Linked DNA regions of Homo sapiens: regions 1, 3, 4, 5, 6 and 7 are each linked to region 2. The links are contacts of gene promoters, found by promoter capture Hi-C in blood cells and fetal thymus (Javierre and others, 2016). All regions are on one chromosome and are shown on one strand. Each heading gives the region's core, a stretch centred on a gene start or on the middle of the fragment in contact. The rest is flanking DNA. Distances are from core to core; before and after follow the strand shown.

Evidence for each region. The method cuts DNA at HindIII sites, captures the fragments that hold promoters and counts their contacts. A CHiCAGO score of 5 or more calls a contact.
Region 1: a fragment that was not itself captured here is called in contact with the fragment with the promoter of CDK4 in region 2 in 3 of 17 cell types (total CD8 T cells, fetal thymus and non-activated CD4 T cells); the score reaches 8.0 in total CD8 T cells.
Region 3: a fragment that was not itself captured here is called in contact with the fragment with the promoter of CDK4 in region 2 in 2 of 17 cell types (monocytes and non-activated CD4 T cells); the score reaches 6.7 in monocytes.
Region 4: a fragment that was not itself captured here is called in contact with the fragment with the promoter of CDK4 in region 2 in 1 of 17 cell types (monocytes); the score reaches 13.5 in monocytes.
Region 5: the fragment with the promoter of RNF41 here is called in contact with the fragment with the promoter of CDK4 in region 2 in 1 of 17 cell types (M0 macrophages); the score reaches 5.8 in M0 macrophages.
Region 6: a fragment that was not itself captured here is called in contact with the fragment with the promoter of CDK4 in region 2 in 2 of 17 cell types (monocytes and non-activated CD4 T cells); the score reaches 9.0 in monocytes.
Region 7: a contact is called between a fragment that was not itself captured here and the fragment with the promoter of CDK4 in region 2, in 1 of 17 cell types (non-activated CD4 T cells). The highest score is 5.1, in non-activated CD4 T cells.

The regions. Positions count from the first base shown.
Region 1 is chr12:56,627,347-56,630,618 of GRCh38, reverse strand. It overlaps BAZ2A (bromodomain adjacent to zinc finger domain 2A), which reads left to right and starts at 293. Exons shown (of 29, transcript NM_001300905.2): 1 at 293-494. RefSeq lists enhancers at 1-56, 87-136, 2,915-3,272 and a silencer at 357-706. The HindIII fragment of the contact is 526 bases long and covers 1,537-2,062 here.
Region 2 is chr12:57,751,060-57,754,267 of GRCh38, reverse strand. CDK4 (cyclin dependent kinase 4) reads left to right here and starts at 1,958. Exons shown (of 8, transcript NM_000075.4): 1 at 1,958-2,093; 2 at 2,532-2,768; 3 at 2,926-3,061; 4 at 3,178-3,208. The coding sequence starts at 2,551. RefSeq lists silencers at 1,509-1,628, 1,859-1,938, 2,669-2,808 and an enhancer at 1,599-2,332. The HindIII fragment of the contact is 8,675 bases long and covers 1-3,208 here.
Region 3 is chr12:56,121,413-56,124,778 of GRCh38, reverse strand. ZC3H10 (zinc finger CCCH-type containing 10) reads right to left here. Exons shown (of 3, transcript NM_032786.3): 3 at 1-3,366. The coding sequence ends at 2,912. Among named protein-coding and RNA genes, the nearest start is that of ZC3H10, 4.8 kb to the right of the region's middle. RefSeq lists an enhancer at 2,627-3,366. The HindIII fragment of the contact is 713 bases long and covers 1,380-2,092 here.
Region 4 is chr12:56,101,683-56,105,188 of GRCh38, reverse strand. It overlaps ERBB3 (erb-b2 receptor tyrosine kinase 3), which reads right to left. Exons shown (of 28, transcript NM_001982.4): 28 at 1,684-3,506. The coding sequence ends at 3,134. It overlaps LOC105369782 (a long non-coding RNA gene), which reads left to right and starts at 770. Exons shown (of 2, transcript XR_944995.4): 1 at 770-901; 2 at 1,271-1,375. PA2G4 (proliferation-associated 2G4) reads right to left here and starts at 630. Exons shown (of 13, transcript NM_006191.3): 1 at 364-630. The coding sequence starts at 451. RefSeq lists enhancers at 356-575, 586-935. The HindIII fragment of the contact is 842 bases long and covers 1,836-2,677 here.
Region 5 is chr12:56,220,080-56,223,211 of GRCh38, reverse strand. RNF41 (ring finger protein 41) reads left to right here and starts at 1,290. Exons shown (of 7, transcript NM_005785.4): 1 at 1,290-1,452. It also overlaps a transcript of NABP2 not described here. RefSeq lists enhancers at 1-47, 1-397, 879-1,098, 398-1,332, 1,319-1,368. The HindIII fragment of the contact is 1,612 bases long and covers 799-2,410 here.
Region 6 is chr12:56,315,891-56,319,486 of GRCh38, reverse strand. PAN2 (poly(A) specific ribonuclease subunit PAN2) reads left to right here. Exons shown (of 26, transcript NM_014871.6): 23 at 1-179; 24 at 306-399; 25 at 1,053-1,250; 26 at 1,844-2,551. The coding sequence ends at 1,878. CNPY2 (canopy FGF signaling regulator 2) reads left to right here and starts at 3,499. Exons shown (of 6, transcript NM_014255.7): 1 at 3,499-3,596. RefSeq lists enhancers at 3,146-3,295, 3,376-3,425, 2,926-3,514. The HindIII fragment of the contact is 2,294 bases long and covers 104-2,397 here.
Region 7 is chr12:56,719,334-56,722,717 of GRCh38, reverse strand. It overlaps NACA (nascent polypeptide associated complex subunit alpha), which reads left to right. Exons shown (of 9, transcript NM_001365896.1): 3 at 1,259-3,384. Among named protein-coding and RNA genes, the nearest start is that of NACA, 4.3 kb to the left of the region's middle. RefSeq lists an enhancer at 1,783-1,902. The HindIII fragment of the contact is 4,291 bases long and covers 1-3,384 here.

The DNA.
Region 1 (3,272 bases), core at 550-3,049, 1.1 Mb after region 2:
GGCACCTGCCTTTGGGCCTAGACGTTTGGTCTAGTCTTTTAAGTTAACCTTGGGACTGTGGCATGCCTTTCAGTTTGCCCTGTGTGAAGCAGGACCACTGCCTCCATGAGATGCGGGTGCAGAGGGAGCTGCCAGGTGGGCAAGGTGGCCAGAGTTGCAGGAGGCACAGCGGCGCTAGGACCCAGGTCCGGGTCGGAAAGATGGGCTGGCGGGCTTTAGGACCCTGTGGCGGAGGCCGCGTGGGGAGACTCTCTCCCGGCCGAGGCTTCTCCGCCCCCTCCGGCTCCGACTCACTCCTCCCCCGCCGGCCATGTTGGCTCCTCTCGGGCCCCGCGGTTGAGCCGCGTCCCCCTCCCCCTTCCCGAACCCCGGACCCCAGACCCCCTCCCCAGCGGGCGTCTCCACCCGTTCTGGCGCCCGGAGCGCGGCCATGTGAACCGCTTGTACCCCGGGGAGAGACGAGCCCCGAGCCCGGCTGGACGCCGCTGCCTCAGGTTTGTGGGGTCTGTGGCCAGGGGCCTGAGGGGGAGGGAGCCCCGCTTTCATCCGAGGCTTCCCTCGGGGAACAGAAGCTCCAGAGCCGGCTTGAGCCTTGCCGGGGCGGGAAGCCGACGGGAGCTTATTTCCTGCGAGGATCCAACCCGAGGCGAGGGTCTCCTTGCTCTGGGGTCTGGGAGGAGAACAGGGCTGGTGGGGCTGCTGAGGACCCCGGACGGGGCCGCGGGGGCAGGAGGAGCTGTAGGGGCTCCCGGCGACAGTGAGGAGGCGGAGAAGCCGCCTGGCTGGTGGAGATGACTCCTGTGGGGGACTTGGGGTGGAATCCCCGGGAGGGGCTCCACCTCCTCGGGTGGGGGTGGGGATTGCCTGAGCGCGAGGGGTGGGTGAGGGGGTTCCCTTGGCGGGTTAAAACGCTCCGTTTGCGGGGAGCTGGGCGTTTTGACTGTGGTGAGTGGAGGGCGGAAGGGGTTTCCAGGGGTCTGAGGGTGTCTCCCTCGGGGAGCGCACCCATTCTCTTGAGCGTGAAGATCAGGAGAGGGCCTTCCTTGCTGAGGGTGGTGCTGCGCTTGGCTTGGGGCCCTCGCGTCCCGGGAGAATCGCGCACTCCGGGGATGGAGGTTGATAGGGCTTCCGCTGAGGCTTTCCAATTTGAGCTGGGCTGAGGGGCAGAAGGGAAGAATAAAGAGGAATTCCTTTTTCCAAGGAGATTCCTCACTGAGGGGATCCCCGCTTCCGTGGCAGAAAGATGATACCGCATCATCCCTTTCTTTCCCGGTGTTCCCAGTTTTCAGGAGAAGGCAATGTCAATAGCAGTTGTCCTTTGTAGGGTTAATTGGAGTGAGAGATTTGTCTGCTTTGGGGGACGACGGAGGGGATAGCTTTCCACCTCTATCTGTACACAAACAGCCCCTCCCCCAGCCTCCCGCAGGAAGTGGCCGGGAAATGGCAGCTGTGCGTTTGCTGCTGCGTGTCTTGTTGTTTTGAAATGTCCATTTTAATCAGATTTGGTTTCATTTTCTGAAGCCTTCTGGGCAAGCTTGGATCTTGCCAACCATGTGGCCCGAGAGACCTTTCGTTGGACTTTTTTTTTTTTTGTAAACTTGTCAACTGGAAGTAGTCAACTTCAGTTGACTCACGTATCCCAATCCCTTCTCCAGAACATCTCTGTCTTCCTGTCTGGTTTCGTTTTGTTTTCCCTTTAGCTAGAGGTCATAGAGAAGCAAACTCAGTTATCTACCAGCGGGGTACGCTCTATGTAAGTGATGCAAATTCCCTCAGCATAGAGAGCTGTCAGGGAGACTAGAGAGCTTTTGTGGCACGAGTAGCTTCTTGGGGTCCTACTTTAGTATAGTTATTATGACAGTTTCTATATTGCAGAGCACCTGAGCAAGTGAGCTTGTGAAGAAGGGTAGATTCTAAGAAATGGACGAAGAGGAAGGGGTGAGGAAGATTTAACTATTAGATGGATTTGTGTGTCGGGGGTAGGGACTGATTAACAGACTGAGATTGGTGAACTCAGTCCTTGGTGGTGATTCTAGCCTAAGGGCAGCCCCTGTGGGAAGCTTGTTATTTGACTAAGGGGTGCTGGAGATACTACCTTCTGCAGAATCAACTAATTAGAATAGTACAGTTTGTTATCATATGACTTACTCTTTAATCCATAAAAGAACGTCTCCCCTCTTATTCTTCTTGGAGATTGGTAAGCTTTTCCTCTGTTCCCTGCAAAGTCGTGCCCAGATTTTTTTTTTCTTTCTTTTCACTTGATAATCCCAGGATATTTCTCCTGTAACATATAGTGATGGACTGTGTGCTATGTCCCCAGGCATTTTGTGGCACACTGGATTTGGTTAGGGGCAACAGTTGGCCACAGAATTTTATTTTTCTTTCTTTTCTTTTTCTTTTCTTTTTTTTTCTTTCTGTCTTTTTTTTTTTTTTTTTTTTTTGAGACGGAGTTTTGCTTTTGTCGCCCAGGCTGGAGTGGTGTGATCTTGTCTCACTGCAACCTCTGCCTCCCGGGTTCAAGCGAGTTGCCTGTCTCAGCCTCCCGAGTAGCTGGGATTACAGGAGCCCGCCACCGCATCCAGCTAATTATTTTATTTTTAGTAGAGACGGCGTTTCATCATGTTGGCCAGGCTGGTCTCGAATTCCTGACCTCAGGTGATCTACCCACCTCGGCCTCCCAAAGTGCAGGGATTACAGGTGTGAGCCACCATGCCTGGTCTTCTCTTCTTTTCTTTTTTTTCTCTTCTCTCTCTCTTTTCTTTTCTCTTTCTTTCTTTCTTTTTTTTTTTTTTTGAGACAGGGTCTCACTCCGATGCCCAGGCTGGAGTGCAGTGGCGCCATCATAGCTCACTGCAGCCCCGACCTCTTTGGCTCAAGTGATCCTCCCACCTCAGCCCCCTGAGTAGCTGGGACCACAGACACGCACCACCACATCCAGCTAATTTTTTGTAATTTTTGTAGAGGTGGGGTTTTGCCAGTTTGCACAGGCTGGTCTTGAACTCCTGGGCTCAAGTGACCTGCCTGCCTTAGCCTCCCAAAGTACTGAGATTACAGGCATGAGCCACCATGCCCGGCCTATGACCCCAGGACCACAGGATTTTAGATTTTGAAAGATAAAGTTTTGTTTTTTTCTTTTTCTTTTTTTTTTTTTTTGAGATGGAGTCTCGCTCTGTTGCCCAGGCTGGAGTACGGTGGCACCATCTGGACTCACTGCAACCCTCGCCTCCCAGGTTCAAGCGATCCTCCTGCCTCAGCCCTCCAGTAGCTGGAAT
Region 2 (3,208 bases), core at 709-3,208:
GAAGAAGGGAGGGGACAGAGCCTGGGACAGACTGCCAAATTAAGGTTCCTCAATAGAAAGTGATGGAGAGACAGTAATGTTCCCATGAAGTATTCAAATGTTTTGGATGGACTAATGAATGAATCAGAAAAAGGGGCTGGGACCCAAGCAGACAGAGAGGACGTCTTCTGTTGCAAAGACAGTAAGCTGTGAAGGTCTTATGTGGAAGGTGAGGCTGAAGTGGGGAATGCTGGTGTGGGAAGGGAGTTTGAAAAACTCACAGACAATTATCTTAGCCTTCCAGAAGGCTTACAAAGCACCCACCCCTAGCAAGGTAGCCAATAAAACATTCACCTCTTGAGCCCCTTAGTCAGTTCAGTCCTTGAGGTTTTTCTTACTAGTGTTCCAGCTGCCCTTGCCAGGAGGGGCCCAGGGCTACAAGTATCAGGATGGAAAGAGGAGGCATCTGTATTAATATGTATTCTATTTTGCTCTAAGTCATGGTTTATATTCATCTTCTAGTTTGAACTCTTATATTCTCAGCCAGATGGTTAAGGAAAACAGAAGTTAGAGTGGAAGGAGTGGCAAATAGGGTAATAAAATGGCTTTAGATTTTAGACAAATTCTCACAAATGAGACACTAACCGCTTTCCTCCTTTACTCCCATACCCCCAAAGGGCTGGGAGATAAAGACCTTGGAGCCAATAAAACAAAGTAGGAGAAATCTACTTGTGTCTACCTAGGTGTCTGGGCAGAGGCCATTTGGGAACAAGTGTGTTCTGGACAGTGCTAAGTGCTAAGAAAGCGGCACTAGGGAAAAAGAGGGAAGCACAATAACTCCAAATGAGTAGTCACAAGGTTTGCAGAAGGGGGCATGTCATTTTCATTCATTGTGGTGGTCTGGAGGGTGCAGGGGGTGTGGTGGTAACTTTCTTGCACATGTGCAATCCTGTATCCGTCTTATATATGATGTGATAAATAATATCATATACATACATATATACATAGAAGCATATATGCACACATACAAATATCACATAATCATAGAACCTTCCTACTGGAAAAAAAAAAAAAACTTAAAAGGTCAAGTATTCCTGTCTCCTGCTCATCAATAACTTCTCTGCCAGATGGCCTCAGGTCTTTGCATTAACACTCCCAGGGAGGTTTGGAAGTTGGAAAAGTGAGAGGATTACCTTGTCACTGAGCCTGTTGGATTACTGTATTAATCTGCCTTCCGTCATCCTTTAATCGTAGTTTTGCCCTCAAATGGGCATTGTTTACTCCCTATTGTAGAAGACCCCATTGTTGGCTACATCTTTATAGATAGTCGTACCACTACTTTAAAGGGCCAGTGACAGACACCAAAAACAAAATAAAAACCCACATACACACTGGAAGCAAGCACTCAGTAAAATGTTGTAGAATTAATGAATGAAACAATGACACAAATGAGAGTATGTTTTCTCATGGTGGAGCGAAAAGGTGACAGCATCACCTCTGGTACCCCAACTCCCACCCCCTCCCCAATGCAGACAGGCTGAAAGACCGGTAGTGAGACTGGAGTTCAGCCTTCAGACCGGTAGTGAGACAATCCTTCAGCCGGGAGTTGGGCTCTGGGTGGCCTAGGTTGCCATGGCACCGCCTCGGGCTCCACCCTCTCTTGTCCCCCTCACCGCTCCCCCCCTGCAGCGGGGGTTGTGGCAGCCAGTCACGTGCCCGCCGCGTAGCCACACCTCTGCTCCTCAGAGCAATGTCAAGCGGTCACGTGTGATAGCAACAGATCACGTGGCTGCCATCGCCCCTCCGCCCCCTTACACTCTTCGCCCTCCTCCCAGTCGAAGCACCTCCTGTCCGCCCCTCAGCGCATGGGTGGCGGTCACGTGCCCAGAACGTCCGGCGTTCGCCCCGCCCTCCCAGTTTCCGCGCGCCTCTTTGGCAGCTGGTCACATGGTGAGGGTGGGGGTGAGGGGGCCTCTCTAGCTTGCGGCCTGTGTCTATGGTCGGGCCCTCTGCGTCCAGCTGCTCCGGACCGAGCTCGGGTGTATGGGGCCGTAGGAACCGGCTCCGGGGCCCCGATAACGGGCCGCCCCCACAGCACCCCGGGCTGGCGTGAGGTAAGTGCAGTCCCTTCCCAGGAATGAGAACCAGTGCCCGCCCCCCTCACAGCTTTCCACGCGTTCGTTTCGCGAGCTGGTTATGGAAGGGTCGCTCAAGGGCGGGAAGTGGGGCCTTTGTGGTCATGGGAAAGTATAATTTTAGGGACTGAGGTGTAGGATCTTCGATGCAAGGCATGTGTCATGTGTGATCTTTGTGCGGGGCGCGATTGTCCCAAAGGAAAAAGCGTTTTCTATTGCAGGGCCTCACGTGGCTGGAGGGGTTGGTATTGAGTCATTGTGTTATCTCTGGGGCCGGCCCCAAGGAAGACTGGGAGCGGGGGATGGGATGCTGGTGGTGTTCTTTGCGCTTTTTTTTTGGGAGTCCCTTTGTTGCTGCAGGCTCATACCATCCTAACTCTGTAAGCGACTTTTGGTGATAGGAGTCTGTGATTGTAGGGTCTCCCTTGATCTGAGAATGGCTACCTCTCGATATGAGCCAGTGGCTGAAATTGGTGTCGGTGCCTATGGGACAGTGTACAAGGCCCGTGATCCCCACAGTGGCCACTTTGTGGCCCTCAAGAGTGTGAGAGTCCCCAATGGAGGAGGAGGTGGAGGAGGCCTTCCCATCAGCACAGTTCGTGAGGTGGCTTTACTGAGGCGACTGGAGGCTTTTGAGCATCCCAATGTTGTCCGGTGAGAAGGTGGTGGAGGGTTGGGCGTGGGGAGTAAAGGGAAAAGACAGCCTATAGGTGGGGTGTGATGATCTGTAGAGAAGTGGGGACCCTGAGGAAATAATGAGAGGCCATGTTGGGTTAAAGGGGATTGAAAAGTGAGCATTTACTCTGGTCAGGCTGATGGACGTCTGTGCCACATCCCGAACTGACCGGGAGATCAAGGTAACCCTGGTGTTTGAGCATGTAGACCAGGACCTAAGGACATATCTGGACAAGGCACCCCCACCAGGCTTGCCAGCCGAAACGATCAAGGTGAGTGGGGTTGGTAGGCATTGAGAGGTGGATTGGGACCTTTGTAGTAGAACCTTCTGGGATTTCAGGTATGGTGCCTAGTTTCCAGTGCATCTGTACCTCCCCTTTGAAACTAGGATCTGATGCGCCAGTTTCTAAGAGGCCTAG
Region 3 (3,366 bases), core at 487-2,986, 1.6 Mb after region 2:
AGTGCTCCAGTGTTTTAGTCAATTCAAGTTACAGACACTTTGAATATTATTTAGCTCTTCCTGTGTTACTGTTGATAAATGGGTTTTTTACATGTTTACCCGAGTTGGGTTTTTTCTTTTTACAATAAAACATAGCCCTTGGGCTTATCACTAGAGAACAGAGATTTCTCTAACATAAATGCGCTAACCAACACTAAGTACAAGTGTTCAGTTTGATTCTACCAAATGCTACTATTTTTTTCTCATTATTTTTTAACCAGAGCCATTTGCATGGAAAAAATGCTACGATTAACTGACCCGTAATTTTCCTCTTATCTGTGATGACTTAGCAGGTGAGAGAGAGGAAAGTAGCTCCTGTAATCTGGGAACTGGCCTGACACAGCCAGGCTTCAGAGCTGTTAGGGCTGACCTGGTGCTCACAGGTAGCCAATGAGTTCTCTTGGACACAAACAATCTCACAAAACACCAGCATCAGACAAGGTCACTCAGTGACTGCGATGAAGTGAGACAAAAAACAAAATCACTACACAATTTTGTTTAAGCACAAAACAAGGTCAGTGTGCAAACCACAAAACAGCAAACATCCCCTTTCCCAGCTAGTGAGTGACTTCATCATCGACTGTGCTTAGGTTCACTTGTCTGCCCTTCTTCTAGACAAGCTACCCAATTATCCTGGATTCCCTTAACAGCACCCAATCCAAAAGAACACCCACTTTCTTGAATCTTCCCCAAAATCACTTAACCAAAGTCTAAGTTCTCTAAGTCGTTCCTAACACCCTCATGCTGAGACACACCACGTTATCCCCAATGGTGAGCCCTCCCCCTCACTGCAATGAGCATTAAACCCAACTTGCTCAATTACCAGGTGTATTCTTGGTGGTCTTCAGCTGGAGTAAATACATACAAGACATACAATGTCTAAAATTTCCCAAATCTACCTCTTTGGAGATAACCTGGCAAGGAGGAAATAAAGTCAGTCAGGATTTGACTGAGAATTCATGTTGGTATCTATGGTTACATTCTTCTCTAAATGCTCTTAAACCATCTCTTTTAATAGTCTAGAATTGCCGGGCACGGTGGTTCATGCCTGTAATCCCAGCACTTTGGGAGGCTGAGGCGGGCGGATCACGAGAGATAGAGACCATTCTGGCCAACACGATGAAACCCCGTCTCTACTAAAAATAAAAAAATTAGCCGGGCGTGGTGGCGGGCGCCTGTAGTCTCAGCTACTCGGGAGGCTGACGCAAGAGAATCGCTTGAACCCAGGAGGCGCAGGTTACAGTGAACCGAGATTGCGCCACTGCACTCCGGTCTGGTGACTGGGCAAGACTCCATCTCAAAAAAAAAAAAAAAAATTGTGTCCCAAAAAACATTAAGCTTATCAATGTGTTGTTTCTAAAATCCACAATGTTAGCCCACTTTTAGTCTTTAGGCTTTTTTTTTTAATGACTGGCCTTGACCTAGCCCACCATCTCCAATCCCAGATGTGACCTGAGTGATCAACCAGACAAGAAAGCAAGAGGTAGCAGGAGACATGATGAGGGGGAACACAATCCAGGATCACTCTCTACCCCCAAATCTACTGTCCCATTAGACTAGACACCTGAGTTGTTTTCCCTACATCAGCCGTGAGCTGAGGAGGAACTGAGGTTTGACTATTGGGGCCCCTGGCCTTACTGACTTAAGTAGATTTAAAACTTCTGGTCCTATGTGGAGACAGAGGAAAGGGATGGACCCTGAGGCTTGTGTCCCTAGAAGGACTCTCTTTTCCCAGACCTCCCAAGCCTTGAAGGCTTCAGGAACTGGCCACTGAAGGGGTGGGGTAGGAGGGACATTAACTGCCATCAACTGAGCGGCAACTGCCATCAACTCAATGGCCATCAACTCCACCTGTCCTGCTCTGTTTGAATAAGGATCTGTCAACTATGTAACATCCCATCCGCATTTCAGCAAATACACTCTCCTTACTGCCTGCCCTGCTAAATGACCCTAGGAGCCCTGGTTACTGAGGCAACCTGGGAATAGCACATACAGACAGAGACCAGAAACAGATGGGACTATTTTTAAAACTAGACTGGGTGGCTCCAAAGCTTTTACCCCATAAAGTGCCTTCCCCAAAGCCCCATTTGGTCTTGTTCTGGGTCCCTACCCTTCTTCACTGGCTTCTATCCATCTTACCAAAGCTATGTGAGGCTGGGGTCTTTATCCCATTTTGGCATGAGATCTATTTACTGCTCCCATCTTCCACACAGAATAGCTAAGCAAGTTTTCACTGCCTCCATTTGTTAAAAATAATTGTTCTTTTATTTCTTTGGAAAGTAGTGGGCCCTGCCCTATGGATTTTCAGGTCAAACTAGGGTAATGAATGCTCCCCTAGTCTTTGGGCTGGAGCACTATGGTCCCAGCTTTCCCAGGGCCCAGAAGCAATTCCTGTATTGTCCAACCCAAGCAACTAGGACCCAAATTGTCTGAAGGCTCCTATCAGGCCTTCTCTCCTGACCACCCACTTCCCAATCTTTCCTGGCTTTCCCTCTGGGCAGGGTATTTTTTTCTTCTAAAACCAGTGCTGGAACCTGTGCTGTGCAGAAGAGAGGACAAGACGAGGGATGTTCCCAAATTCCCATAAGAGGACACAGCCCCTCAGTCAGTCCTTCCTCTCTGCTGGCTTCAGTCTGCACTCCTCTGCAAGCCCCCACTGTGAGGCTTGAAGATGGACAAGAGGACCCTCATAAAAGGGAGGTGAGAGAAAACACACCATCCCAACCCCTCCTCAGGACATACTCCTTGTAGTCTCTTGTCCTAGTTCTCAAGGGAGCCCTTCAGACAGGGATGGGGAAGGCTAGGTGAGTGGGCAAGGGCCCCCTGACCCCAGCCCTGCGAGGCTATACCAGGGGAGTGTCCATTAGCCCCATCAGTGTGGCATGGCCGTGATGCGCATGCTCTGGGAAGCGATAGGGTAAGTCACCATGGGAGTGGTGGTGTGGCTCATTGTGATTCCTGCCAAGGGTTGGGCCATCGATACAGCCACAGGGGCCACAGGAGCCACAGATACAGCCACAGGAGCCATGGAGACAGGTGGAGGTGCCATTCCCTGGGCAATTGTTTGAGCCAGGGCAGCTGACAGTGGCGTGATCTCTGGGGTCAAGTGTGGGGGTGGGGGTGGTGGAGCAGCAGGAGGTGCAGCATTAGTTGGGGGAGCAGCTGGAGCTCCAGCAGGGGCCACCAGTTCTTGCTGGGACACTGGACGAGGCTGTAGAGCCTGGCTGCTGAGAGTAGTGTGAGTCTGGGCAATGCCATGGTTAAAAGTGGCAACAGTGCCCACAGTGGGGGCCAGAGTCTGCTCAGTCGCTGGTGCAGTGGAGCTCA
Region 4 (3,506 bases), core at 1,007-3,506, 1.6 Mb after region 2:
CTTCCTTTTCGAGGTGGCCTCGCCGCTGCCAGAATCAGAGGAAGCAATAATCGGGAATGAAGGATAGGAACAAGAGAAAACACGTCTTGCCTCCTAACAAACGGCCTCGGGTCGGAGCCTGCCAGGGTCCCCTCTCTGCGCTCATCCTGGTCGCCGACCCGCACCTCCATAGACTTCAGCCTGGGCCTGCCCGCTCAGGTCCCAGGCGCGACACCGGGTCTTCCCACCACGCCGTGCCCAGCGGACCGGTGCGGGCCCCTCAGTAGCTCAGTCCGCATGACCCCTCCGCTCCAGCCCCTTCCGGGCCAGCCTGTTACCTTTCCCTATCAGCCTTGATTCCCCGACCCCCGAGGCCGCACTCACTGTTGGCGATGTCGCCCCCCATCTTATACTTGGTCACGACCAGGTCCTCAGCGATAGTTTGCTCCTGTTGCTCGTCCTCGCCCGACATCTTCCTACTACCACCACTGCAGCCTCGTTTCCCCTGAGCCGCCGCCGCCTCTGTCTCCCTTCCCAGCCACAGGCTGTGGTCAGAGTCCCCTCGATCCTCGAGGAGAGGGCGAGCGAAAGCGCGAGCAAGCAAGGGAGCGGGCAGGCAGGCGAGAGCGAGAAGCTGCGAGCGCGCGGGCTGAGGCGCAGGGCACGCTGGGACAACTAGTCCTCTCGGCCGCCAGACTCTAGCCGCTCTCGAGGGCCTTCGAACTACAATTCCCAGCCTGCCTCTCGCGCTCCTAAGCCAGGCCCTGGGGCCTTGCCCTCCAAGGGCCTCGCACGCCGGAATCGCCGGGCACTCTGGGAAGGGTCAGGCTCCGGCGGGAAGGCGGAGCCGTTGGGGAGCTTGAGGGGAAGCGTGGTCTCTCCCGGAAAAACCACTTCCACCGAGAACGCTGAGCGAGAGCCAGTAACAGAGAGGGGCGGGCTGAGGGGAGAGGGGCGGAGCTACGGCGGGGAAATAGGTTTAAAGTCGAGCGGGCAGGGGTGGAGTAGAGTGGAGCCGCAGCGGGTGGGCAGTGTCTACACCTAGGTCGGGGAGGCTGGGTGCGCCCTTCTTCGGATCCCTGGGTCGGCTGGCGAAACCCGCCCAGCCGGTCCAGTCGTCCTCCGAAGCTGGGAGAACAGGGAGGGGCAGACAGGTGGAAGAAGACCAAGGGTGCTGGTAACGGGGGCTAACTGGGCAGCCAGACACCGGAGGGATCATCCATTTAAAGGCCTCGCAATCTAGAGGCCGGACTCCTAATGAAGTAACATGACTTTATTGTTCCAATAACAGGCACCTGGATGGAGCACCTAAGGGAAGTGTTCAGAAAGACATGTTTGTTGAGAGTTCTTACCGTGAAAAAATAAAAAGATTTGATGACTTTTCTAAGATAATGAATTCAGAAGCATCTGGAGGTTTCAGTGTTTGGCCTCTGAAGGAGGGCTTATAGGGCTTTTTATAAGTCCTAAAGCACGTAGGTTCTTTTTGTTATTCCCAATTGGTTGCCTTGTAGATTCCTACTAAAACCCTTAATGAAAAGGACTATGCGCTATGGTTGTTCTAAAGAAATAGAAGTAATAGTAGGACTAGAGAAAGCTGCATGGGACAGAGTAGCACTGTCAGAACACAGAAAGGTGAGTATCCACTGCTGAGGAGCAGATCTCTTATCTAACATACGAAATGTCTTCATTTGACAGACAGGAAGCTGAAAAAAAACTTTGGCATTTTTATTCAGACACGTATAAAAACAAAACAAAAAACTTCAGTGATACAACAGACGTTTTCCCTTAGTTCCCCATCCAAGGGGACAGAGGTGTGCAGCTGAAGCTGGATCTTTTTTCTGTCCTACCTGGAAGCTTCTCACTGCTGGATGAGAATGGCTTCTAAAAGTGGATCTTGGGGATCCTTGTGAATTTGCCCTCGGATAAGGAGTGAAGATCATTTACGGCACATGTGGATTATGGTTTACACAAAGATGTCCAGTTATTTTTCCTTCTGACTACCCCCACCACCACTTCCTGAGATGAGATGTCTAGGTATAGGAGGATGTGGCTGTTGGGGTTAGACTTGATTCAGTGCAAAAACAAGAAACAGTGCCCCTTAAACAAGGGCTGTAACTTAAATCAGTTTTTCTTGGCACCTTACAATAAGAGCACATGCACAGGAATTGGGAGGATTTTGCATCCTGGATCTACTGCTTAATTTATTTCATCTCTTTAAGGCTCAGTTTCTTTTTTTTTTTTCCCCTGTAGAGACAGTGTCTTGCTATGTTTCCATAGGCTTATCTCTAATTCTGGGCTCAAGTGATCTTCCCATCTCAGCCTCCCAAAGTGCTGGCTGGGATTACAGGCATGAGCCACTGCACCCAGTTCTAAAGTTTTTTTTTTTTTTTTTTTTTTTTTTTTAAAGAGATGGGGGTCTTACTATGTTGGCTAAGCTGGTCTCAAACTCCTTGCCTCAGGTAATCCTTCTGCCTCAGCCTCCCAAAGTGCTGAGATTACAGGCATGAGCCACCATGCCCGACTTCCCTTTGTGTAAAATGAGATAATATGTATGTCACAGAATTGTTTTAAGGATGATAAAGGACTAAGTGAGATAATGTAGGTGAAGTTTAGTATGATGCCTGGCTCATAGTTAAGTGCTGAATTATGATAGTAATCAATATCTACTCCTAACCTCTTTCTTCACAGATTTTAAGCTTCTGTCTTTCTAGGGGGTTAAGAGTCATAAACCAAAATTACACTTTCCTCTGCTAGGTTTCCTCCCTTTCCTCTTCTTGACAGTCTGATGGGAAACAAAGGCACACATAAGAGCCTAGTTCCAAGTAGTCAAGAGCCTGAGAGGAAGGGATATGGAGAGTAATCCTTCATATCTCCAGGAGTGCCTGTGAAGAAGCTGAGGAATGGGACTGGGAAAGCACACAAAATAAGGAAAACCTTTCCTGGGGTTGGGAAAGAGAAGAAAGTGCACAGCTGGCTACATACCATAAGAATTTTGTGTCAAAATGTTTAAAAGCCTCCAAAGATTGAATGGAATTGTCTGGGACTGGGGAAAAGGGGCTGGGACCTGGGAGAGAGAGGGAATAGGGAGAAGACGGTACCCTCTAAAGGCACTAGCTGCCATTAAATGCTCCCTGAGTGCCACAGGGAGCAGGAGTTACGTTCTCTGGGCATTAGCCTTGGGGAAAAGCCTGCTATGCCAGTAATCAGGGTTATCAAAGGCAGAGTCTGTAGCCTCTAAGCTACGTAGAGTTTTTAGGCGGGCATAATGGACATGGGGGGCCTGATGTCCAGGCCCCTGAAAAGCTCTCATCTCTTCATACCCTTGCTCAGATGCTGGGCAGGCCCCCATGGCTGCATAATCACCCCCAGGACCACCTCCATCTCGTTGCCGATTCATATATTCATAGTCTTCATCTGGAGTTGTGCCTGCAGTGGGCATGATGGGTACAGGGTGGAGTGGGCAACTCTGTGTGCTGCCCAGAGAGGCACTGAGGTCTGACCCCACATCCATGTACTCATAACCCAGC
Region 5 (3,132 bases), core at 41-2,540, 1.5 Mb after region 2:
TGGAGTGCAGTGGCGCGATCTCGGCTCACTGCAATGCAACCTCTGCCTCCCGGGTTCAAGCGATTCTCCTGTCTCAGCCTCCCGAGTAGCTGGGATTACAGGCGCCCGCCACCACGCCCGGCTACTTTTTTTGTATTTTTAGTAGAGACGGGGTTTCACCACGTTGGCCAGCCTGGGCTCAAACTCCTGACCTCGTGATCCACCAGCCTCGGTCTCCCAAAGTGTTGGGATTAAAGGCATGAACCACCGCGCCCGGCCATACTACTCTTATCTTACTTATCTCAGAGTCCCGCTAGAAGACAGCAGAAAGGAGGCCTGAAACTTTAGTTCCTTTTGGGACCTGTCAAATTGTCCACAAAAGGTAGCTAGCTCTGTATTGTTGTGTATAAACAAATTACATAAAGATATGTGTGTATGTGTGTATTAATGTGCATTAGCATTTGCTTAGCCAATGTCCACAATAAATACCATACTATTTAATACCAGATTAGTCTAGGAAGTCATGTGATTGTAATGCCTTGGTTTGCTTAATTAATCCCTTATCTGCTCACGGAGCTCTTTAGGCTCCACATTGACTTCCCTTGGATCCCACGTTCTCTACCGCCCACATCCCCAACACCACGGTGTTGTAAGCTAAGGAAATCAAACCCCAACTCAGGAAGAGGGAAATTTTTTCTCCCTTCCTTCCTCTTAGGTGTTTCAGGGAACTCCACAAGTGTTCGGGGAGCCATCGTGGATACGGCAGGAGAGCGCCTGGGAGAGAGGCAGACAACCCGTTGAGCACCCCAGATCTAAGCTTTGCGGTCAGACTCCCTCACTCCCCACCCCGCGGCCGCCTTGTTAACTGCAATATCCATTCCCATGACAGGAGTCAAGGGGTTACGAAGCTCTGGGATGCTGACCAGGGCTCTGGAAAAGGGAGAGGGGCCGGACCCGCAGCAGGTCACGCTGCAGGCCTGCCTCTCCGCAATGATCTCGCAACAATCTGCGTCAGCTCTAAGACACAAGTCACCTGCACCCCTCCAAAGCGAAGCGTGGCCGGCCAGGCCCACACGTTTTTGCCGGGAAGAACATAGAGTTCTCCCTCCTAAATGGCTACATAGTCCTGGCTGGGACCATATAGACTCTAGACTAGACTTCCTGTCTAGAGTGGAGGCCTGGCCAGCCTTCGTCCCTCCTCGTAGGCAGCTCCTGGCTGCTGGTGTAGGGGCTGAGTTAAACAAAGAGGCGGGGTTTGGTGACGAGCTTCCGCCGGGTTGCGTAGCAGCGGTGGGCGGGGCAAAGGATCCGTCTGAGGCGGCGACGAGTGGTAGGAGTCTTCTTTCCCCTCCTTCCCCTTTCCCTTCCCTTCCCGGGAGAGGCTGGGACCCGGCACCAGGGCAGTACTGTGGCCGCTGCGGCCTCAGCTCCGACTGGGTCAGGTTGCGGAGACTCCAGGCCGCTTCCAGGGCGGTGCGTACTGCGCCTGCGCGATCTTCCACCTAAAAGAGGGTGTGGGAGGGGAGGAGGTGATGTCCCAGGGGTATTGGGGCGGGGGGTTGAAATAACTGGGGTTCAGGAGGAGGGATGGTGGTAGAGATAAAAATGTGAGAAGGGAGCAGCACTGGCGAGGAGTCGGGAGGTGAGAAGGGGGCTCTGGAGAACGGGTTGTTGGGGAAGGTCCATTGGAATAGGGGAGCTTTGAGAAGTGCGGGAGGGGGCCGGGGCTAGCTGGAGGACCGGCACCTGCAGAACTGGGGGAACAGCGTGGTGTTTAAATGGGCAATGATTGACGGGCCAGAAGGGGAGGAAGGGAGCATTCCGGGGGCCAGCCTGGGCAGGGGCGGTGGAACCTAAACCCCCGCCCTCGAAGCGCCATAGCTTGGCTCCTCTCCCATGCCTTGTCGTTGGCAGCCTTGTCCTCTCATTCCTTCCCCGCTCCTCACCCCCTCCCAGCCCTCCATGAAGGAATCTCACATTCTTCACATCCCTGCGCTTGGTTTGCAGCCTGGCTCTCTGGCAGGGTTCACACACCACACACTGGAAGGCCTTCCCTAACTCAGGACTTTGGGAAATTGGGTAGTGGGGAGGAGGGGGCTAGAGGAAGAGCAGAAAGCCAGGAGGGGTGAAGGCGTTTTGCTTGAGGGATTGACAGACTGCTTCCCCGTTCAGAAACTTCATTTCATTTAATAGCAAGTGGGGCTGTTATTGAGGCCACTGTTCTTGGGGACTGGCCCGTGATAGTGTTATCCCTTTCTATACAGGGGTTTTAGAGTCTGACAATAGGGCAAGAGACTGATAGTGTTGTTGGCTGATAGTTTTGCCCCAAATAAGAATGTAGTGGACTAGTGGTAGGGAATGTGAGTGATGCAATGTTAAGCCGACCGACCTGTGGCTAGCCCTGCCTTCTAGTAAAAAGAAGGAACAAGCTTTTGTCAAGCATTTCCTCTCCGACTCTCAGTACTCTAAATTTATTTTGCATTCTTGTTTTTTTTTTTTTTTGAAACGGAGTCTCACTCTGTCACCCACGCTGGAGTGCAGTGGCACAATCTCGGCTCAGTGCCACCTCTTTCTGGGTTCAAGCGATTCTCCTGCCTCAGCCTCTTGAATAGCTGGGATTACAGGTACCTGCCACCATGCCTGGCTAATTTTTTGTATTTTTAGTTGAGATGGGGTTTCACCATGTTGGCCAGGCTGGTCTCAAACCTCTGACTGTAGCCGGGCGCGGTGGCTCACGCCTGTAATCCTAGCACTTTGGGAGGACGAGGCGGGCGGATTGCCTGAGCTCAAAAGTTCGAGACCAGCCTGGGCAACACAGTGAAACCCCGTCTCTACTAAAAATATAAAAAATTAGCCGGGGCATGGCTGCATGCACCTGTAGTCCCAGCTACTTGGGAAGCTGAGGCAGGAGAATTGCTTGAACCCAGGAGGCAGAGGTTGCAGTGAGCTGAGATTCCACCACTGAACTCCAACCTGGGCAACAGAGTGAGACTCTGTCTCCCCACACCCCCCGCCAAAAAAAACAAAACAAAACCCTGACCTCAGGTGATTGGTCCATCTCGGCTTCCCAAAGTGCTAGGATTACAGGCATGAGCCACTGCACCCAGCCTTATTTTGTATTCTGTTGCTACAAATAATCTTACTTGAGGATAA
Region 6 (3,596 bases), core at 1-2,500, 1.4 Mb after region 2:
TGGTGGATTACTTGACTCAATACTCGGGTATAAAGCCTGGTGACCTCGATGCCAAAATTTCCTCCAAGCACCTAACAACTCTCAAGTCTACCTACTTAAAGCTTCGTTTTCTCATTGACATTGGAGTCAAGTTTGTGGGTCATGGCCTGCAGAAGGACTTCCGGGTCATCAACCTGATGGTTTGGCAGGGCTCTTTTAAGAGTCTTCTTGTGAGAGTGGGCCCCTCAGGGTATACATTGTGCCTTTAGAGAATGGGGAATTATAGGTCCCCTACCTTAAGTCTCCCCCTCTTTTATCCTTGCCAGGTGCCCAAGGACCAAGTCCTTGACACTGTCTACCTGTTCCATATGCCCCGAAAACGAATGATTTCCCTGCGATTCCTTGCTTGGTACTTTCTGGGTGAGTTGCTCTGCCTTGTAGGCCCCTGCTACATTAATAGCAGAAGCAGCCATTTAAAAAAAAAGAAATCATGTTCTTTGCGGCAACATGGATGGAGCTGTGGGCCATCATACTAAGTGAACTAACTCAGAAACAGAAAATCAAATACCACATATTCTCACTTATAAGTTGGAACTAAACAATGAGTACATATGGACATAAGAATGACATTAGGGACTCTAAAAGTTGGGGTGGTGGGTGAGGGGTGAGGGTTGAAAATTACGTATTGGGTGCATAGTTCACTATTTGCATATTAGGGATACCAGAAGCCCAGTCCCCACCAGTACACGATACACCCATGTAACAAACATGCACATGTACCCCAAATCTAAAATAAAATTTAAATATAAAAAATAAAAGCATGGGGGGAAAAGAAAAAGTAGGAAAAGTGTTAGAGGACAAAATGGGAGTAGGGGAGACCCTCAGTTAGTGGTGACAGTTACTAATGGATTTAATTAACTTCAATATCCCTTCTGTGCACTGAGGAAGATGTCTGACAATTTTCCTTAAGGGCAGTCAGGCTTTTTAGTTTTCTGGAGTCAGGTAGGAGTGGGGAGACATGTTCCTACCTCCCTTTGCTGGGTCCCAAACTATTCCACCTTTACTTACCCCAGACCTGAAGATTCAAGGGGAAACCCATGACAGTATTGAGGATGCCCGCACAGCCCTTCAGCTGTACCGAAAGTATCTGGAGCTAAGCAAAAATGGCACTGAGCCTGAGTCTTTCCACAAGGTGCTCAAGGGTCTTTATGAGAAGGGCAGAAAGATGGACTGGAAGGTGCCTGAGCCTGAGGGCCAAACAAGTCCCAAGAGTAAGACCTGGGATGGGACAAGGGAAACTGGACTGGGTGGATTTTGTATTTTGTTTGTTTGTGACAGGGTCTCACTCTGTCACCCAGGCTGAAGTGCAGTAGCGTGATTACAGCTCACTGCAGCCTCGACTTCCTGGGCTCAAGTGATTCTCCCACCTCAGCCTCCCAAGTACCTGGGACAACAGGCACACACCACCACACCCAGCTAATTTTTGTACTTTTTGTAGAAACAGGATTTTGCCATGTTGCCCAGGCTGGTCTTAAACTCCTGGGCTCAAGCGATCCACCCACCTTGGGCTCACAAAGTGCTGGGATTACAGGCATGAGCCTGAGCGCCCCCAATTGGGTGGATTTTGATTGCACATATGGAGAATAGCACTTAACAGTTTACAAAGCACTTCATCCTCCTAACATTCAGTAAAATACATTTTATCGAAACTCTCCATTAACTATAACTTCCTCTTGCCCAAGTCTAAAATGTTCAGGGAAGGTCCATGCCCTTTTTTCTCTTGCATTTTTCCTTCATAGGAAGTATGAGAAGATGCTTTTTCTCCACTCAGCTTGAATCATGCTTTTGGTTTTGTCTCTGACAGATGCAGCTGTCTTCTCCTCAGTGCTGGCGCTCTGACTACCCTTCCCAAAGAACCACGGCCCTCTCCCTTTACTGTTCTATAGCCCCAGAACTGGGAGATGGCTTCCTAAGTTGGCTATACCTTGTCCACTTCCAGTACTGGACGTGCTCAGGGTCTAGGGTCACAGATGGTGCTATTAATTGAACTGGAACACAGCAGAATTGTTGCAAAGGTTCTAGGAGCCAGATTCATTCCTTCTTCATTCTTTGCAAAACAGTGGTACAGACATGGAGTCTAGAATTGACCCAGATGGAAAGTAATTGGTATTCTTAATATCCTGGGTGACTAATATCCAGGCAGAGAAGCTCCTGGAACCATAACTGTAAGTTCCTAGCTGGCTAGGGATTGAAGTCCTGGACAGTGACAGAGGATACCACAGTAGTTCAAGACTTAGCACAAGTCACCAACTGCTTCAGGGATACCTGGAGGGGCCAGCAAGTAGAGTGTTGGTGGCCCAAGCAAACCAGTGTTGCCAATACCATTGCCAAAAGGGCCTTTGGATCCTGGACAAAGCTTGGCTGCCGGCTTCATTTATTCCTGCTGATGGCTGAGAAGCATCTGTCTTCCATCCCACTTGCCTGTCCCAAGTTTTGTTCCATTTTTTAAAAATTTGTTGTAAACTGCATGTTTTATAAAATAAAAATAAAATATCGTTTGTTATTTATCTCATTAGAGAACTGCTAGTGTGGGTTCTCTGGCTTCAGTCTTCCTCTCCTTCCTTTGAAGGTAAAGGTCCGGAATCCAAAGTTATGGATATGAAAGGGTATAATTAGGCCGGGCGCGGTGGCTCACTTCTGTAATCCTAGCACTTTGGGAGGCAGAGGTGGGTGGAACACGAGGTCAGGAGTTAAAGACCAGCCTGACCAAGATGGTGAAACCCCGTCTCTACTAAAAATACAAAAATTAGCTGGGAGTGGTGGATGGCGACTGTAACCCTAGCTGAGGCAGAAAATTGCTTCAACCCGGGAGGCGGAGGTTGCAGTGAGCCGAGATCACGCCACTGTATGCCAGCCTGGGCGATAGGGCGAGACTCCGTCTCAAAAAAAGGGGAAAAAGGTATAATTTATGCCTTTTCTGGGCAATGCTGGGTCTTTGCTATAGCTGCCCAGTACCCTAAGTCAGACTGAAGATGTACAGTATGGTTTCCGTTAATTGTGTAAGCCGACAAACTACAGGTCCCAGGATAGCTTGAGACTTGTAGTTGCTCACAAAGATGGGTCCGGTGCTGCGGTGCTTCCTGGGAGATGTAGTTTCCTGTGTATTGAAACCTGGACTGCTCGCTGGCCGGCAGCGCACCGTTTTGAAGGTCCTAGCCCACCTGGGCTGGCTCACGCGCACGACTAGCCGCTCCCATACAGCACGCCCGGACTCTGTCGTCGCTTAAGGCCACTCCTATTCTACGGCTGACCCCTGGTGGTCACGTGGATCTGTTCGCCACGCAAGTCTGGGTCCTTCGGCGATTGACCGGGGTCCTTGCTGTTCGGGAGCCTCTCCTAAGCTGCCTGTTCGCGCGAGAGTTTGGAGGGGCGGGTTTGGGGTCGGTGTCTGATTGGGGCTCGCACCGCAGCACGCTGGAGTCCCGCTTAGGTACCAGTTAGCGTCAGGGGAGCTGGGTCAGGCGGTCGCCGGGACACCCCGTGTGTGGCAGGCGGCGAAGCGCTCTGGAGAATCCCGGACAGCCCTGCTCCCTGCAGCCAGGTGTAGTTTCGGGAGC
Region 7 (3,384 bases), core at 293-2,792, 1.0 Mb after region 2:
TTGTCTTCTTTGGTTTGTTTTGTTTTGAGACGGAGTCTCACCCTGTCACCCAGGCTGGAGTGCATGCAGTAGCGCGATCTTGGCTCACTGCAACCTCCACCTCCTGGGTTCAAGCCATTCTCCTGCCTCTGCCTCCTGAGTAGCTGGTATTACAGGTGTACACCACCACGCCCAGCTAATTTTTGTATTTTTAGTAGAGACGGGGTTTCACCATGTTGGTCAGGTCGGTCTGGAACTCCTGACCTCGTGATCCGCCCTCCCAGGCATCCCGAAGTGCTGGGATTACAGGCATGAGCCACTGTTACAGGCTCTCCAATTCTCTTCTTCCAAAATAGCACCACAATCTGGTTTAACAAGTTAGGTTACAGTTTCATAATACAGTCCCTACCCTTGTGAGTAAGCTCTCTGCCTGGAGGTCTAATTCATGTCTAATTCATCTTGGATTGATGTCTGAAGAATTAACATCACCTAGGAAGGTTTATAGAGACTATTACAGTCCTTTTGTGGTTGGTTTTCTTGTTTGGGTTTTGTGAGTAAGTAAACTGGTAAGGTATAAAGAAGCTAAGTGACTTTAATACTTGATATTAAATTCTGAAGTGTTTCAACTTTAGGAAGAACTGAATTGTGCTGTGCACCTCCTTCCCAAAACTATTCTAACAGAGTCAGATGTTTCCTAGCCTAGTGGAAGCCTGAAAGTATAAAAGCCTGTGTTTTCTTATTCAGTTCAGATTCCCCATCATCGTCACTGCTCACTAACTTCTTTGTTCCAGTTTTCAGTATCTTTTCTGTTCATGATATTTGGGTGGACAGAGTAGCACAGCTGTTCTTCTCGTGGGAATTCTGTTGGCTGTGAGAAAGACTTGGGAATACAGTCCATTTCAAGAAGTAAGGGGAGGGCACAACTGGGAAAGGATAGAAAGCATGTTGTTCTCAACCTACCAAGAGTCTGTGCTCCCCATTTAGAGATAGGCTGCTCTTAGACTGTTCTCCTCACCCTAAAATAGTTGGTTTACTTTGGTAGAACTTGGGGAAGTGTGAGAAATTAGGAGGGGAATGTCTTCTCACTTGACCACTGAAAAATGTTTGGGGAAGGTTGTTGTTGCCTGTCACCTTTATCTAATCCTGCGTGGTGACTTAGACTGTCAGATTTTAAACTCCAGTGTTTCCTAGGAGGCATGTTGTACCAAGTTGGGCTGCATAACTCACCTTTTTTCTCCTCCCCCTCCCCCTTTCTTTATCTCCTTTTGCCTTTCTCCAGCTGTGCTACCTATGTCTTCAGCCTTGAGTGTCACTGCTGCCTTAGGGCAGCCTGGACCTACCCTCCCCCCTCCTTGCTCTCCTGCCCCACAACAGTGCCCTCTCTCAGCTGCTAACCAGGCTTCCCCATTCCCTTCCCCCTCTACTATTGCCTCGACCCCTTTAGAAGTTCCTTTTCCCCAGTCATCCTCTGGAACAGCCCTACCTTTGGGAACTGCCCCTGAAGCCCCAACCTTCCTACCAAACCTAATAGGGCCTCCCATCTCCCCAGCTGCCTTAGCTCTAGCCTCTCCCATGATAGCTCCAACTCTGAAAGGGACCCCTTCCTCTTCAGCTCCCTTAGCTCTGGTTGCCCTGGCTCCCCACTCAGTTCAGAAGAGTTCTGCTTTTCCACCTAACCTTCTTACTTCACCTCCTTCAGTGGCTGTAGCTGAGTCAGGGTCAGTGATAACTCTGTCAGCTCCCATTGCTCCCTCAGAACCAAAGACTAATCTTAATAAAGTTCCCTCTGAGGTAGTCCCTAATCCAAAAGGCACCCCCAGCCCTCCATGTATAGTCAGTACTGTTCCTTACCACTGTGTGACTCCCATGGCCTCTATTCAATCTGGAGTGGCCTCCCTTCCTCAGACAACACCCACAACTACCCTAGCCATCGCTTCCCCTCAAGTCAAAGATACCACCATTTCCTCAGTTCTGATTTCTCCACAAAACCCAGGAAGCCTCAGCCTGAAGGGGCCTGTTAGTCCACCTGCTGCCTTATCTCTTTCAACTCAGTCTCTTCCTGTGGTGACCTCTTCTCAAAAGACTGCGGGTCCCAACACCCCCCCAGATTTTCCCATTTCTCTGGGCTCTCATCTTGCACCTTTACATCAGAGTTCTTTTGGTTCTGTCCAACTTTTAGGTCAAACAGGTCCTAGTGCTTTGTCAGACCCTACAGTGAAGACCATTTCTGTAGATCATTCTTCCACAGGGGCCTCTTATCCTTCTCAGAGATCTGTAATTCCTCCCCTTCCTTCCAGAAATGAGGTAGTTCCTGCTACTGTGGCTGCCTTTCCAGTGGTGGCTCCATCTGTTGACAAAGGTCCCTCTACCATCTCTAGCATAACCTGCAGCCCTTCTGGCTCCTTAAATGTAGCTACCTCTTTTTCATTATCTCCTACAACCTCTCTCATTCTCAAAAGCTCTCCTAATGCCACTTATCATTATCCTTTAGTGGCCCAAATGCCCGTTTCTTCTGTTGGAACCACCCCACTTGTGGTGACTAACCCCTGTACAATTGCTGCAGCACCTACTACTACCTTTGAGGTAGCTACTTGTGTTTCTCCTCCAATGTCATCAGGTCCCATAAGTAACATAGAACCAACTTCCCCTGCTGCCTTGGTTATGGCACCTGTGGCTCCCAAAGAGCCTTCTACTCAAGTAGCAACCACTCTGAGGATACCAGTCTCTCCTCCTCTGCCAGACCCTGAAGACCTCAAAAATCTCCCCAGTTCAGTATTGGTTAAATTTCCAACACAAAAAGACCTCCAAACTGTACCTGCCTCTCTTGAAGGAGCCCCTTTCTCTCCAGCCCAAGCAGGACTCACCACCAAGAAAGACCCTACTGTATTACCGTTAGTCCAGGCAGCCCCTAAAAATTCCCCTTCTTTCCAAAGTACATCCTCTTCTCCAGAGATACCTCTTTCTCCTGAAGCCACCCTAGCAAAGAAAAGCCTTGGGGAGCCTCTCCCTATAGGTAAGCCAGCCAGCAGTATGACCTCCCCTCTGGGTGTTAACTCCTCGGCCTCTGTAATCAAGACAGATTCTTATGCAGGCCCAGACTCTGCTGGTCCGCTTCTCAAAAGTTCTCTCATTACCCCAACAGTGGCTGCATTTCCTTTGGAAAGTGCTGACCCTGCCGGGGTGGCTCCCACAACTGCCAAAGGTACCTCAACTTATACAACTACAGCCAGCCCTTTTCTAGAAGGAACTGTCTCTTTAGCTCCTAAAAACCACCCAGTTAAGGAAGGTACTCTTACTACTTTACCCTTGGTTCCTACAGCTTCAGAAAATTGCCCTGTGGCTCCATCCCCCCAGAATACCTGTGCTCCTCTGGCTACCTTAGTGCTGGCCCCTGAAATCCCAAAG